Linked DNA regions of Homo sapiens: region 2 is linked to region 1. Evidence: promoter capture Hi-C in human tissues and cell types (Jung and others, 2019). All regions are on one chromosome and are shown on one strand. The core of a region is centred on a gene start or on the middle of the fragment in contact, and the rest is flanking DNA. Distances in the headings are between cores, read along the strand shown. Region 1 holds the start of KIAA1958. Region 2 overlaps UGCG (UDP-glucose ceramide glucosyltransferase).

What was found. The method cuts DNA at HindIII sites, captures the fragments that hold promoters and counts their contacts. A contact is called where the count stands out against the background at its distance.
Region 2: a contact is called between a fragment that was not itself captured here and the fragment with the promoter of KIAA1958 in region 1, in 1 of the 25 tissues and cell types used here (aorta).

The regions. Positions count from the first base shown.
Region 1 is chr9:112,480,719-112,488,076 of GRCh38, reverse strand. It overlaps KIAA1958, which reads right to left and starts at 1,250. Exons shown (of 4, transcript NM_133465.4): 1 at 959-1,250. It overlaps HSDL2-AS1 (HSDL2 antisense RNA 1), which reads left to right and starts at 433. Exons shown (of 5, transcript NR_171779.1): 1 at 433-1,098; 2 at 1,536-1,687. RefSeq lists silencers at 652-1,141, 1,222-1,281 and an enhancer at 1,712-1,771. The HindIII fragment of the contact is 14,239 bases long and covers 1-7,358 here.
Region 2 is chr9:111,905,721-111,913,078 of GRCh38, reverse strand. The region is part of intron 1 of UGCG (UDP-glucose ceramide glucosyltransferase); the gene reads right to left. Among named protein-coding and RNA genes, the nearest start is that of UGCG, 13 kb to the right of the region's middle. RefSeq lists an enhancer at 3,557-3,616. The HindIII fragment of the contact is 4,643 bases long and covers 575-5,217 here.

The DNA.
Region 1 (7,358 bases), core at 1-2,500:
ACCTGACTGGCTTGTTAGCTGTTTATTTCGTCGGGAGAGGATTCCGTCTTGCGAATCCTAACGAGTTCGGGAAAAAACAAAACTTTACTCCTAAACTTCAAAACACACACACACACACACACACACACACGCACACACACTAAATACATATAATTGTAAAAATCACAGCCACGTTCATTTTTTTTAAAGTCCCAATCTAAAACCTTAAAGAAAAAAAAAGACTTGAAGGAACCAAAAACATTCTTTGATTTTGGTTTGACGTTGTTCAGTCCAACCTCCTCCTACCCAGGGGAATACATTTCTCGATATATTTGATAACAAACACAAATCACTGTGCGCAGCCTCAGATGGGGGTGGGGGGGCGGAAGAGCCTTTTGGAGAAAGCCCTCCTCCGTTAGAAACAATAAATAAGGGAGCGAAGCCATGCACGTTCCTTCACACACGCCCCAAACGCACCTCGGCGAGCCACCCGAGGAGGAAAACTAGTGGGGCAGAGCCCTGAACCACCTCTCTTTCTCCATAAGCATCTCAAGACTTGGAAACTAAGAGGACAGACCTTTTCCTCCTCCTTCCCGCCCTCCTTCCCACCTCCGACAGACCCAAGAGCAGGAGCGGGGGCGCCAGCCCCACGCACTGCGCCTGCAGCCGCCGCTGAGACCCGAGCTGCCGGGCGGCGGGGCGGCCCGGGGCAGGCGGACCGGAGCCGCCACCGGGGGTCTCTGCGCCTCGCACCCCCAAGCCCGGCGCTGCCGACGAGCGGCCGCCCGGGTCCCTGCCCTCGCTCCGGCCTCGCTCCCCCGAGAGGAGACAAAAGGAAGGTTCAGCCGGGTCACCGCGCGGCCGCTGACGGGGAAGCAGAGTCGACCCCGGCGCGGCCGCCCCCCACACAAAGGGGCTCCCCGCCTGGGTCGCGGCGTCGGCGCACTCGTCCCCGCCCCGCGCGCGGGCTCTCACCCACCTGCAGGTGTCTGTGCGTCTGTCCATAGGAACGCGGTCGGCGCGGGGGGGCCTGCGAGAGCCGGGCAGCCCGGGCTGGACGGGACGGGCCGAAGGGGCGCGAGGGCGGGAGGAGAGCGGCCAGAGGGCCGGGCACCAAAGGTAAGTGGAGCGGGGAAGGCGCCCGGCGGGCGGCGGACCGAGGAGCGGGGCGGGGGGCGGGGGCGCCAGCCTGGCTCGGCCGACCGCCGCGCGCCGCTCCGTGCGCCCCGAGCTCCGCGCGCCCGGCTCGGAGCGCGGCGGGCGGGCAGGGGGCGGGGCGCGGGCGGGCCGGGGCGGGGCCGGCGAGCGGGGCGGGGGCTCGGACCCCGGGCTCCAGCCGGCACCGGAAACGCGCCGTGGTCGGCGAGACCCACAGGAAGTGTGTAACGACACCTCCTACGGCACGCACCGAGCTCGCAGTCGTTGCTGCCCCGAGGAGGTGTAGATCGAGCCTCCTGCCGCACACACGTTCGCACGCGGCGGCCGGCGCGCTGGACCGAGAGGTTGGAGCAATCCATCCTCCGCGCGCACGAGCTCAGTCCCTACTGCCCCGACAGGTGTGGAACCCGCCGTCCCCGCTATGGTCCGAGGAAGTGTACAGCACTGCTCCCTACTACACGTCCTGGGCCCGCGGTCCCCGATGCCCCCCGGAGCTCTGTGCACCTCCACTGAAACGCAAGGAGCAGACAGAACCTACACCATCCGTGAGGTGTGTGATTTCCCTTATAACGCATTGAGTAGAGTTACCTCTCCGCCCAGGGATGTGCATTAACACTTTCTACCGAGATACTACGTACAGCCCATAGTCACCGCTGCCCCGTGAAGGTGCCCAACAACCACCTGTAACACACACACCCCTATCCCATCGAGGGAGCGGGGATGCTTAATGATACCTAAAATACACTAAAACTAGGTCCTCCAGCAAACCAGAGACACAAGAACACCACCTACACGACTCAGCACAGCAAAGATGAAGCTGGACTTGCTAGGTGCTACCAGGCTTGGTCCACCTTTATTTTACCTAACACTTTCGTAGTACTTGCTGTGTGCCCACAGTTTGCACTGAGTACTTAGCGAATATTAATTTATTTAATCCTAAGAACTCTACATAGTGGGTGCTATTAACATTGCCATTTTATGATAAGGAAACTGAGGCACAGAGAAATTAAGAAATTTTTTCAACATCACATAGATAGTAGCTAGAGGAGCCTGGATTCATTCCGGACAGTCTGGCTTCAGAGTCTGCTCTTAACTCCCTTTCTATTTACAGCACTGACCATCTCCAAAACAGTAATCATGGTAATAAATAACATTTACACCATATCTGTCAGGCCTTACGTAGTGCCCACATCTTGGCCTCACCTCATCTGTGACAGGCATACCCCAGTCACTTGTACCCTTGGAGTAGGTAAGGGAAGAGAAGAATATTTTTGAGGGAGAGAAAGAAGCTAACTTCTTAGCAAAGGAGAAAATATCCAGGGTCGTCCAGAATCCAAGCAGGTAACTTCATTACCACATCAAGCATGTTCTCTTTTAGGTAGCTTCTGCCAACCCCTCTCCATCTCTAGAGCTGATTCCGGTTGATGTTCTTAACACCTTCCTCTATCAACACTCTTCCAGGTCTAGGCTGAAATTTAAAATCTGTGTAAATGTTGACACAATAATGTTTGTACAAACAAAAAAGACCAAAAATGAAAACCCCCTAGTTAATTGCTGCATATTCTAAAGATGGGATCTTGTGGAGAAATTGGAACTCTTATGCAATGCTGATAGGAATGTAGATGGTACCACCACTATGCAAAACAGTGGGGAAGTTCCTCAAAAAACTAAAACTAGAGCTACCATATGATCCAGCAATCCCACTTCTGGGTAAATATCCAAAAGAATTGAAAGCAGGATATCGAAGAGATATTTGCACATTCATGTTCATTGCAGCACTATTCACAATAGCCAAGAGGTTGAAGCAGCCCAAATGTTCATCAACAGATGAAGAGATGAATGAAAATGTGATATATACATATAATGGAATATTATTCAGCCTTAAAAAGGAAGGAAATCTTATCACAGGCTACAACATAGATGAACCTTGAGGATGTTGTGCCAAGTGCAATAAACCAGTCACAAAAGGACAAATACTGTTATGATTTGACCTATATGAACTATGTAGAGGTATGTAAACTGTGGGATTATGTCAAACTTGTGGAAACAAGACGGTAGAATAGTGGTTGCTAGAGGGTAGAGGGAGGGGAAAATGGTGATATAATGTTTACTGGGTACAGAGTTTCAATTTTGCAAGATGAAAAATTTCTAGAGATGTTACACAATAATGTAAATATAACACCACCGAACTGTACACTTAAAAGTAGTTACAAAGGTAAATTTTAAATTGTTTTTGCCACAATCAACTTCAAAACAAATCTAATTTTATTTGTTTAAAGGATATTTCACTACAATGAATTTTTTTAATGATGCAGGCATCCAACCATGATGAGGTACCTTGTTGAACAAACTAACTCTGCCACTGAGAACGATGAAAGCTGTTTAAAAAAATAAATAAGTCTGTTTAAAACAATTGGAGAGCAACCCTGTCATCCAAGGCTTGAGAGTCCACGAGCCCCCCAGGAAGAAGAGAAATACTCTGAAGTGAGTCCTGCATTCTCAGCCGCTTTTCCTTCTCAGGGCATTGTTGATTTGTGTCTAGGAGTGTAGAAGTCAGAAAGAAGCACCCTAGAGCTTACCGGCAGTCTTACTGGCCTGGAGATACAAAATTTGGAGTCAGGTCTATTAAGGCAGCTAGGACTTGAAAAACGAAGATCCTAGAGAAAGCAATCACAGTAAACCTAGTGGGTTGGCTGAGGGCCATAATCCCGGCACTTTGGGAGGGTGCGGCAGGAGGATTGCTTGAGGCCAGGAGTTTGAGACCACCTTGGGTAGCATAGTGAGACCCTCGTCTCTACAAAAAGAAAAAAAAATTAGCTGGGCATGGTGGCCCACATCTCTAGTTCCAGCTACTCAGGAGGAGTAGAGGAGAAAGAGAGAAGAAAGGAGACCTGTGAGATTATGCTTTTATTAGGTCTATAGGCATTATGCCCTTAAAAAACACATGCACAAAGGAGAGGAACTTATTTCCAAGACTCTGGTGTTAACCATTAGGTTTTTGTTTTGTTCTGTTTTGTTTTGAGACAAGGTCTCCCTCTGTTGCCTAGGCTGGAGTGCAGTGGCGTGATTTCAGCTCACTGCATCCTCTACCTCCCTGCCTCAGTCGATCCTCATGCCTCAGCCTCTTGAGTAGCTGGGACTAGAGATGTGGGCCACTACGCCCAGCTAATTTTTTTTTCTTTTTGTAGAGACAGGGGTCTCACTGTGTTACCCAGGGTGGTCTCAAACTCCTGGCCTCAAACAGTCCTCCTGCCGCACCCTCCCAAAGTGTTGGGATTACAGCCCTCAGTCAACCATTAGGTTTTTTCATGGTCAGCTGAGGGATGTGTTGCGTTTGGGAGTCTATAAGATGAACAAGTGGGCTATATCTCAACGACACTGGGAGGGGAAGTTTGTTTTGTTTTGTTTCTTGAGACAGAGTCTTGCTGTGTTGCCCGGGCTGGAGTGCAGTGGCATGATCTCAGCTCACTGCAGCCTCCTCTGCCTCCCAGATTCAAGCGATTCTCATGCCTCAGCCTCTCGAGTAGCTGGGATTACAGGCACACGCCATCCTTCCCATCTAATTTTTGTATTTTTAGTAGAGGCAAGGTTTCACCATATTTGGCCAGGCTGGTCTTGAACTCCTGAGCTCAAGTGATCCTCCCACCTTGGCCTCCCAAAGTGTGGAATTACAGGTGTGAGCCACCACACCTGGCCAGGAGGGTAAGTTTTAACAAGGCCAAAGGTGACAGCAGGGGGTTGGGTATACAACTGGGTTTCAAAAGACTTAGGCCAGGCCTAAAAATGAATGCCAGAGCAGCAACTATATTAAAAAATTTATGACACTGGTACATGCTTCAACATGGATAAACCTGGAAAAGTTTACAAAGCTATGGGAAAGGAGCCAGTCACAAAGGGTCATATATTATATGATTCCATTTATATGAAGTGTCTAGAATATACAAATCAATAGGGAAAGAAAGTAGACTAGTAGTTCCCTAGGGCTGAGAGGTTTTGGTGGAAATGTGAGGTAACTACTAAGGAGTAAAGTTTCTTTTTGGGGTGATGAAAATATTGTAAAATTGGATGATGTTTATGAAACTCTGATTATACTAACAGCTACTGAATTGTACGTTTTAATGGGTGAACTGTATGGTATGTAAGTTATTTCTCAATAAAACTGTTTCAAAAAGGAAGCATGAAATACAAATCGTAGGCCAGGCATGGTGGCTCACGCCCATCATCTCAGCACTTTGGGAGGCCAAGGTGGGAGGATTGCTTGAGCCCAGGTGTTTGGGACCAGCCTGGGCAACAAAGTGAGACCCTGTCGCTACAAAAAAAATCAAAAAATTAGCCGGGTGGGGTGGCACACATCTGTAGTCCCAGGTACTTGGAAGGCTGATGTGGGAGAATCAGTTGGTCCCAGGAGGGTCAAGGCCGCAGTAAGCTGTGTTTGTGCCACTGTACTCCAGCTTGGGTGACAGAGCAAGACTGTGTCTCAAAAAAAAAAAGGAAAAAGGAGTCCAATAGAGGGCAGAGTCTGAGGAAGGGGCACAGGTGCCATGTGCAGCAAGAAGAACCCCCTAAAACAGCCCAAGAAGCAGGCCAAGGAGACGGATGAGGAAGATAAGACTTTCAAGCAGAAGCAAAAAGAGGCATTAAAACAAAATGATACGTTAGAACATTTCTCCCAACAATTGCAGAATACAAGCTCCTTTCTTTCATTATTTTTATTTATTTATTTTGAGACAGTCTCACTCTGTCACCCAGGCTAGAGTAAAGTGGATCATAGCACACTGCAGCCTTGACCTCCACATTTAAGCGATCTTCCCACATCAGCCTCCTGAGTAGCAGGGACTACAGGTGGGTGCCGTCATACCCAGCTAATTTTTCTTTTCTTTCTTTTTTTGTTTTTCTGAGGTGGAGTCTCACTCTGTCGCCAGGCTGGAGTGCAGTGGTGCAATCTCAGCTCACTGCAACCTCCGCCTCCCGGGTTCAAGCGATTCTCCTGCCTCAGCCTCCCAAGTAGCTGAGACTATAGGCATGCGGCATGACGCCCAGCTGATTTTTGTATTTTTAGTAAAGACGGGGTTTCATCATGTTGGCCAGGATGGTCTCGATCTCTTGACCTTGTGATCCACCTGCCTTGGCCTCCAAAAGTGCTGGGATTACAGGTGTGAGCCACCGCGCCCGGCCATACCCCGCTGATTTTTAATTTTTTTTTTTTTTTTTTTGTAGAGATGTGGTCTCACTATATTGCTCAGGCTGGTCTTGAACTCCTGGGCTCAAGTGATTCTCTCACCTTGGCCTCCCAAAGTGTTGGGATTACAGGCGTGAGCCACCATGCCCAGCCTAGATGTTCCTTTTAAGTGCATATATAATGTTCACTAAAAAAGGCCATATAATTAGCTATAAAACAAGTCTCAAAAAATTTAAAATGATTGAAGTCACAGAGTATATTTTTCTAACCCACTGTAAAGCTAAATTTGAAATCAATTATAGATCAATATCTGGAAACTCTGAATATTTGAAAATTAAACATGTTTCTATAGTCCTCATTGATTAAAGAAGAACTCAGAAGGAAAGTAGGAAAATCTCTCGAAGAATGAAAAATTACACAATGTATCAAATGTTTGTGGGAAAATGCTAAGGCAGTTCTAAAAGTGAAATTTATGGCTTAAAAGTTTGTATCATAAGAAAAAGAGGGCCCAAGAGAATGAACTAAGTTTTAATCTTCAGAAGCTACAAGAAAGGACATATTAAACACAAAGTAGAAGAAAACAAATAATGAAGATAGTAGAAATCAAGTAAAACAGAAAACAGACCCTCCCCCAGCCGCCCAAAAAAAAAATAAGTAAGAAAATAAAGGAAAACATAAAGTATTTTGTAAAAAATCATTGCCAGGCATGTGGTTCATACCTGTAATCTCAGTGCTTTGGGAGGCCAAGGTGTGTGAATCGCTTGAGCCCAGGAGTTGGAGACCATCCTGGGCAACATAGTGAGACCTCGCCTCTACTAAATAAAAATATTAGCCAAGCATGGTGGTGTGTGCTGGTGGTCCTAGGTCATCGAGAGGTTGAGGTGGGAGGAAATCGAGACCATCCTGGCTAACACGGTGAAACCCCGTCTCTACTAAAAATACAAAAAATTAGCTAGGTGTGGTGGTGGGCGCCTGTAGGCCCAGCTACTCGGGAAGCTGAGGCAGGAGAATGGCGTGAACCCGGGAGGTGGAGCTTGCAGTG
Region 2 (7,358 bases), core at 1,647-4,146, 580 kb after region 1:
TTGATTTGATAAAATCCACTATTAAACTGGGAAAGACTTCTGGAGGGACACCGGTACCACCACCCAGACCACTTAGCCATGGGCTTGGTCTCTAACTAAGGCAGGTGTGTGCTGTAGCAAACATCTAACGTTTTAGATAAGGCCATACAGTTTTACACACACGTGCACACACGCACACACACACACACACCAGGTTTACAATGGAAAAACTTTAAAACCAACAAGAAATTTAAAGAACAGGGTGGTATCAATTTCTGATACACCAAGTACCAGAAAATACTGGAGCACCATCTATCGCAGTGCTACTCAAAGTGTGGTCTGGTCCAGCATTGCTTTTTACTGGTTTGCAAGTGAGAAACAATTGAGTGAAACCTTTTAGAAACTTGTATAGCAATTTAACATTGCCATGACATCAAGCATGTGATCAGCAATTTATTTTTATTGTAGTTTACCAAAGTATTGGCTCATGGCAGATTGGAATTTTTTTTTTTTTATTTTTTTAAGACAGAGTTTTGCTCTGCGACCCAGGCTGGAGTGCAGTGGTGCGATCTCAGCTACTGCAACCTTCGCCTCCCGGGTTCAAATGATTCCCCTGCCTCAGCCTCCCAAGTAGCTGGGATTACAGGCATGCACCACCATGCCCAGCTAACTTTTTGTATTTTTAGTAGACACAGGGTTTCACCATGTTGGCCAGGCTGGTCTCGAACTCTTCATCTTAAGTGATCTGCCCGCCTCGGCTTCCCAAAGTGCTGGGATTACAGGTGTGAACCACTACAGCCAGCCAGATTGGATAATTTTAAAGAACAACTGCTTTGCCATAGATAGTTTGGAAAATATTGCTCTACAGAGTTCATCTGGAGGACCAGACAGGTAAAACCACGATCTAAAACGCATATAACCACAAAAGTAATCACTATTCTATTTCTAACAAAATAGCAGACTAGATGCCTGAAACCCACCAGGTAAAGAACATCTAGACTGCTGGGGAAAAAAGTTTATATTACACAATTAATTGATTCAACAGGATATATATATATATATATATATATCCTGTTGAATATATATATGTATCCTGTTGAATATATATATGTATCCTGTTGAATATATATATATCCTGTTGAATATATATATATATATATATATATATATATATATATATATATATATATATATCCTGTTGAATATACACATATGAGATAGGGTCTTGCTCCGTTGCTCAGGCTGGCATGCAGTGGTGTAATTATCTGCATCTCCCAGGCTCAAGCGATCCTGCCACCTTAGCCTCCCCAGTAGCTAGGATAACAGGTACACTCCACCACACCAGGCTAATTTTTTTATTTTTTTATGGAGATGGGGTCTCACTATATTGCCCAGGCTGGTCTTGAACTCCTAGGCTCAAAGAATCCTCCTGCCTTGGCTTCTCAAAGTGCTGGGATTACAGGCATGAGCCACCACGTTCAGCCCCTGAACTGGTAATATACTGATATGGTTCAAATCACTAAAAATATTAAGAGGGTCTGATAAAAGAAATCTGTCACCACTGGCCCCCCATCTGCCTGTTTCCATTACTGCTTCCCCAGCATTACTAGTTTCTTGTCCTTCCAGAGGTTTTAAAAATGCATATACAAGTCAAAATATATACACACATTTATGGTATATATGAATTATATATGTACATATTCATAAACTTGTCTCTCTTCCTTTTTAATACAAGTGTAGTAAAAGCATGTTTTAAAATACATAATTGAACCGTTAGGACAATAAAGAAGAGTCTCTAAGGTCAGAAATGAGAAAAAAACCTCTTCAGTGACTGAGTGCTAGAGTCCATGCTTGCCTCCTGACCATCTACTGGTGACCTGGAGATGGAGAGAAGCCTGAGATAAGAATGACAGGACAACTGTTCTGAGAGCCTTGGGTAAATCTGGACTCCCTGAAAGGCAAGCAGAAAAATCCTGGTCCATAGAGGGAAGATGCGGATGCTCTCTATCTTGGATTCAGTCCTCAGTGAAATAGAATAAAAGAAAAAAGTCTTGGCCAGGCACAGTGGCTCATGCCTGCAATCCCAGCACTTTCAAAGGTGGAGGCAGGTGGATCACTTGAGGTCAGGAGTTTGAGACCAGCCTGGTCAACATGGTGAAACTCCGTCTCTACTAAAAAATACAAAATATGGCCAGGCATGGTGGTGTGCACCTGTGGTCCCAGCTACTTGGAAGGCTGAGGCATGAGAATCCCTTGAACCTGGGAGGCAGAGGCTGCAATGAGCAGAGATCGCGCCACTGCACTTCAGCGTGGGCAACAGAGAGAGACTCCATCTCACACAAAAACAAAAACAAAAAAGAAAAAAGTCTTCTTGGAGAACACCTCACCACGTGGGTTTGGGCCAAGAATGCAACCTCCCTGTGTACCTGAACAAAACCCAAGAGAAGAGAAGGAAATGAGGGAAATCATTATATATGACCACAAATAATATGAAAAGAACCACACAAGTTCTAGGAATGACAGTTACAATCACTGACATCAGAAACTCAAAAGACAAGTAATACAGAATCTTACGTACTCACAATTTACGAAAGAATTGGCATCTAGATTAGAAGAAGCTATCCAGAATGCAGCCCAGAGAGAGGGACAGGTAAAGACACAGAAATCATGAAAAAGTTTGAGATGTGGATGACAGAATAAGAAGGTCTAAAATCCCAGTGATTTTTATCTGTTGGTCCCACTGTGTGATCCTTAAGTGCTATTAAACTACCAAAACATGCAGGTCAAGTGCTGGCTAAGTAGCAGAGAGAACTGGCCCACTAATAATCTCAGTGCCTGTGGCAAGGCTTTAGATCAAAAACAGTAGCAACGAAGATCATCTAAGCTGTACTGAATAGTCTAGAGGCGATTACATTTTGGTAAAGTTTAGAGTAGATCCTACTTCTCCCTTCTCCCAAGATGTTTTACTTTAAATATCATTAGATACACCTCCTCCTTTGAAGAACTTTTCATGTTGAGAATGCAGTATTTTATCATAGATTCATTCTGACTCTCTCAACAGCCACAAAGCCCTCTCTAGGTTTATGGATAAAGAGAATTGTTAAGTACTATATCTGAAATTTCTACTCAAAATAAGCCAGACTATATCACAGGGCCTTTAAAAAATGTATTTGTGCCTCCCCTCTGTCCCTGTCTCTCTCTAATATTTTCTTTCCAAAACCCAACAGGTCAGTTTGTTGTGTACCCCCTAGGGTACGAGATCCTACCTTGCAGAATACTGTTTTGACTTACATAACGCAACCAACAAAGCCATGTGGTACAAATTACTTGAAATGTTTGTCAAAACAATAGAAGAATATCCATTAAGTCACCAAATAAACAAAACACCTCTAGCACTAGGCTCAGCACACAGTGGTACTCCATGACTGCTTTGCAGTCACTTACTGGACAACATCTTTACAGCCCCGAATGTACACTAGTCATTATCATATGCACTGGAATGCAACAAGCAACAGGTGAATTCCCTACTGTGAAGGAGCTGTGGCTTAATGGGGAAGTTGGGTTGCACATGCCCAGAAGCTCTTCTCCTTACAAAACTCTTAAAGATGTCAACAAAGCTTTGCTCTGGAGAATCGTTCCACAGGTGGAAACAATGCCTTTGGCCATGACCAGTGTGTTGGAAACCAATCTACAGATTTCTACACAGAAATCATGAAAGAGTTTGAGATGTGGATGACAGAATAAAAAGCTCTAAAATCCCAGTGATTTTTTTCAAAAAAATTTTTTTAAATCCCAGTGATTTTTTTTCAAAAACATTTTTTAAATCCCAGTGGTTTTTTTCAAAATAAAGAAGAGTTTCCAAGGTCAGAAGTAGCCTTGTGGGCTGGTGCAGTGGCTCATGCTTATAATTCTAGCACTTTGGGAAGATGAGGCAGGCGGATCACTTGAGGTCAGGAGTTCAAGACCAGCCTGGCCAACATGGCAAAACCCCCATCTCTACTAAAAATAGAAAAATTAGCTGGGCGTGGTGGCACACGCCTATAATTCCAGCTACTCGGGAAGCTGAGACACAAGAATGACTTGAACCTGGGAGGCAGAGGTTGCAGTGAGCCGAGATCGCACCACTGCACTCCAGCCTGGGTGACAGAGAGGGAGAGAGGGAGGGAGGGCACTGTGATCAATTGCCTAGTGTTTCAAAAGTGGCCTCCACGGTGGAGCCCTTAAAGTGGGGCAGTATTATAAGTGGCTCGGACAGGGTCTTACAAGTTTTACTGGTTTCTAACTAGTTTTTCTTTTAGTGTCTCAGATCAGGGTTTCTGCATTTCCTAGACAGTATGAACTTGAGCCTATGATTCCTACACGTTGCACAAGCTTTCTCATGGGTGTCCATTTCTACCCTCAGCCTAGGGCAGACGACTTGCTTTCTAGGTTCTATACTGGGAATCCAGTTCTTACCTTCCTATAATGCATCTGGCTTGCAGCCTTGACCTTTTTGTTGGGGAAGTGGTGTGGGGGGTACTTTTTATTGATACATAATGTACATATTATAAAGTCACCTGTAAGTACACAGCTCAAAGAATTTTCTCAAAGTGAAACTCTCATGTAACCAGTACCCAGATCAAAAAACAGTATTAGCAGAACCCCAGAAGTCCTCTCGTGTCTCCTTCCACGTACTATGCTCCCCTCAAGGGTACTCACTGTCCTGACTTCAGACTAGTTTTGCTGGCTTTAAATTTTTATATAAATGGAATCCCATAGGATGTATCTTTCCTGTCTGGCCTCTTTGGGTTGCGTTATGTTTGTGAGAATCATCCGCGTTGTTACATTTAGCTATCATGTATTCACTCTTGTTACAGGATAGTTTTACTAATATACCACACTTTATTTACTTTCTGTTGATGGATGTTTGGGTTGTTTACAGTTTGAGGTTATTATAACTAGTGTGCAGCACTGACTCTGTCCTCGCACTAGTACTAAAAGCCCTACTCTTCCCACCACCCACCCCCCAAGCCTTCAACTTTTGGACAAGATGAAGAAACGCTAACTGGATTTACTCTCTCCCACCTGAAACAACCAAAAAATCAGAAAAAAATACAGGAGACAACAGTTTTGAAGATACTGGACATCAAGCAAAGGAAGACAGTGATTCCTATGACACAGAAAATAAGGTAGGCTGGGTGCGGTGGCTCACGCCTGTAATCCCAGCACTTTGGGAGGCCAAGGCGGGAGGATAATTTGAGGTCAGGAGTTCGAGACCAGCCTGGCCAACATGGTGAAACCCTATCTCTTCTAAAAATACAAAAAATAATTAGCCAGGTGTGGCCTCACGTGCCTGTAATCCCAGCTACTCGGGAGGCTGAGGCAGGAGAATCACTTGAATCCGGGAGGCGGAGGTTGCAGTGAGCCAAGATCGCACCACTGCACTCCAGCCTGGGCAACAGAGCAAGATTCCATCTCAAAAAAAAAAAAAAGAAAGAAAATGAATTGAAGAGCTGGAGTCAACAGTCCAGAAAAACAAAAACATCCAGCACCCAACACGGTGAAATTCAAAATGTCTGGTATCTATTAAAAAATTTCCAAGCATGCAAAGAATCAGGAAAATATACCAATGAGAAGAAATATCAATAAATTAAAACCCCACCGGGATTCAAATTAGCAGACCAGACCAACCCACTGCTTTGCATTCCCTCTTGGTTTCTGGAATATGCAGATTTTCTTTTCACATTTTCAGGCTCTGGGTGTGTAAGTGTCTAATCGTTACAGCATTTCCATGTGTTAATAGGAGAGGTGGTTCTCACATGTGCACACGCCACCTCTCATTCAGAAGTAGAGTCTGTACGGGACTCTGCAAATGCAGTGTGATACAGGCTATCATCAAAGTATGTTTGGAACACTTTGAGAGAAGAGAGATGGAAGCATCCAACTACTCCTAGGAGGCGGTCTTTCCAGACTTTCATACTCCAAGTGTGGCCCATGGACCAGCAGCATTGGCAACACCTGGGAGCTTTTCAGAGCTTCAAAATTTCAGGCCTCATCCCCCAAAACTACTGAAACTCAATCTTCAGTTTAACAAGATCTCTAGGTGATTCACAGGCACACTCAAGCTTGAGCAGCACTGCTTTAAGACTCATCTCTGCTATAAATTCTTCGTGACTTCACAGACAAGGCTGAAAAGGCCTGGAGCTCATCCTCTAGGCAAGAAATAACCATGAAAGACTAAAAGGAAGCAACCAGGATCATTTTTGTATTTATAGAAGTTAAGAGAATAAAGTACAGGCAGGGGAGATGGAAGGCAAGGGAAAAATATTGCAAAGGTCCAAAAGAAAGAGACAAGCACACAAACCAGAAAGGCATAAGAAACAAGTGAAAGGCTGGGTGCAGTGGCTCATGCCTGTAATCCCAGCCAATTTGGGAGGCTGAGGCAGGTGGATCACCTGAGGTTGGGAGTTCAAGACCAGCCTGGCCAACATGGTGAAACCCCGTCTCTACTAAAAATACAAAAATTAGCCAGGCATGGTGGCGCACACCTGTAATCCCAGCTAGTCGGGAGGCTGAGGCAGGAGAATCACTTGAACCCAGGAGGCAGAGGTTGTGGTGAGCCGAGTCCGTACCACTGAACTCCAGCTTGGGCGACACAGCGAGACTGTCTCAAAACAAAACAAAACAAAACAAAACACACACACAAAAGAAACAAGCGAAGGAAGCAAAGTCAAGAGAAGGTGAGAACTCAGAATCAAGGAGTTTAGCCAATAACTGATGATGGTATTGCTGGAGGGGGAATGAGGGATAATGAGGGGTATACCTGGGTCAGGCTATGGTAACTAGTGGTGCCATTCATAAAATCTGGGCACAATGAGAGATGGGAAAGAGTAATGAACTTTTGAACATACGAACTTTAATTTACTCTCAAGACATCAAGTGGTGACATCTCATCTAGGAGACCAGAGGTTTGCAACTTGTAGTATAAATAATGCCCACAGGTAGAGATCACAAGTGAATAAACCAGATGAAGAGACTAGGAATCTGCATTTTTCACAAGCATACCAAATGATGCAGGCTGGCAGTAAACTACAACTGGAGAAACACTACAGTAGAATATAAATTCTCCAGAGCCCAGCAAAGCAATAATACACAGTATGTTCTCAATTTTTAAAAATAATTTTGAATAAATGAAGAGTAAATAAATAAACAGATACAGAGAGCTCAGCAGGTAAGGTTAGCCTAGAGATAAAAATACAGAAGCCATCCACCGTAAGGTAAATACACAAGCTCTCTGAGGCACAGCATTCTTAGAAGATGGCCAAGAAGGAATATATTATTATTGAATCAGTAATGCATGAAGGAGAGGCCGGGCTCAGTGGCTCATGCCTGTAATCCCA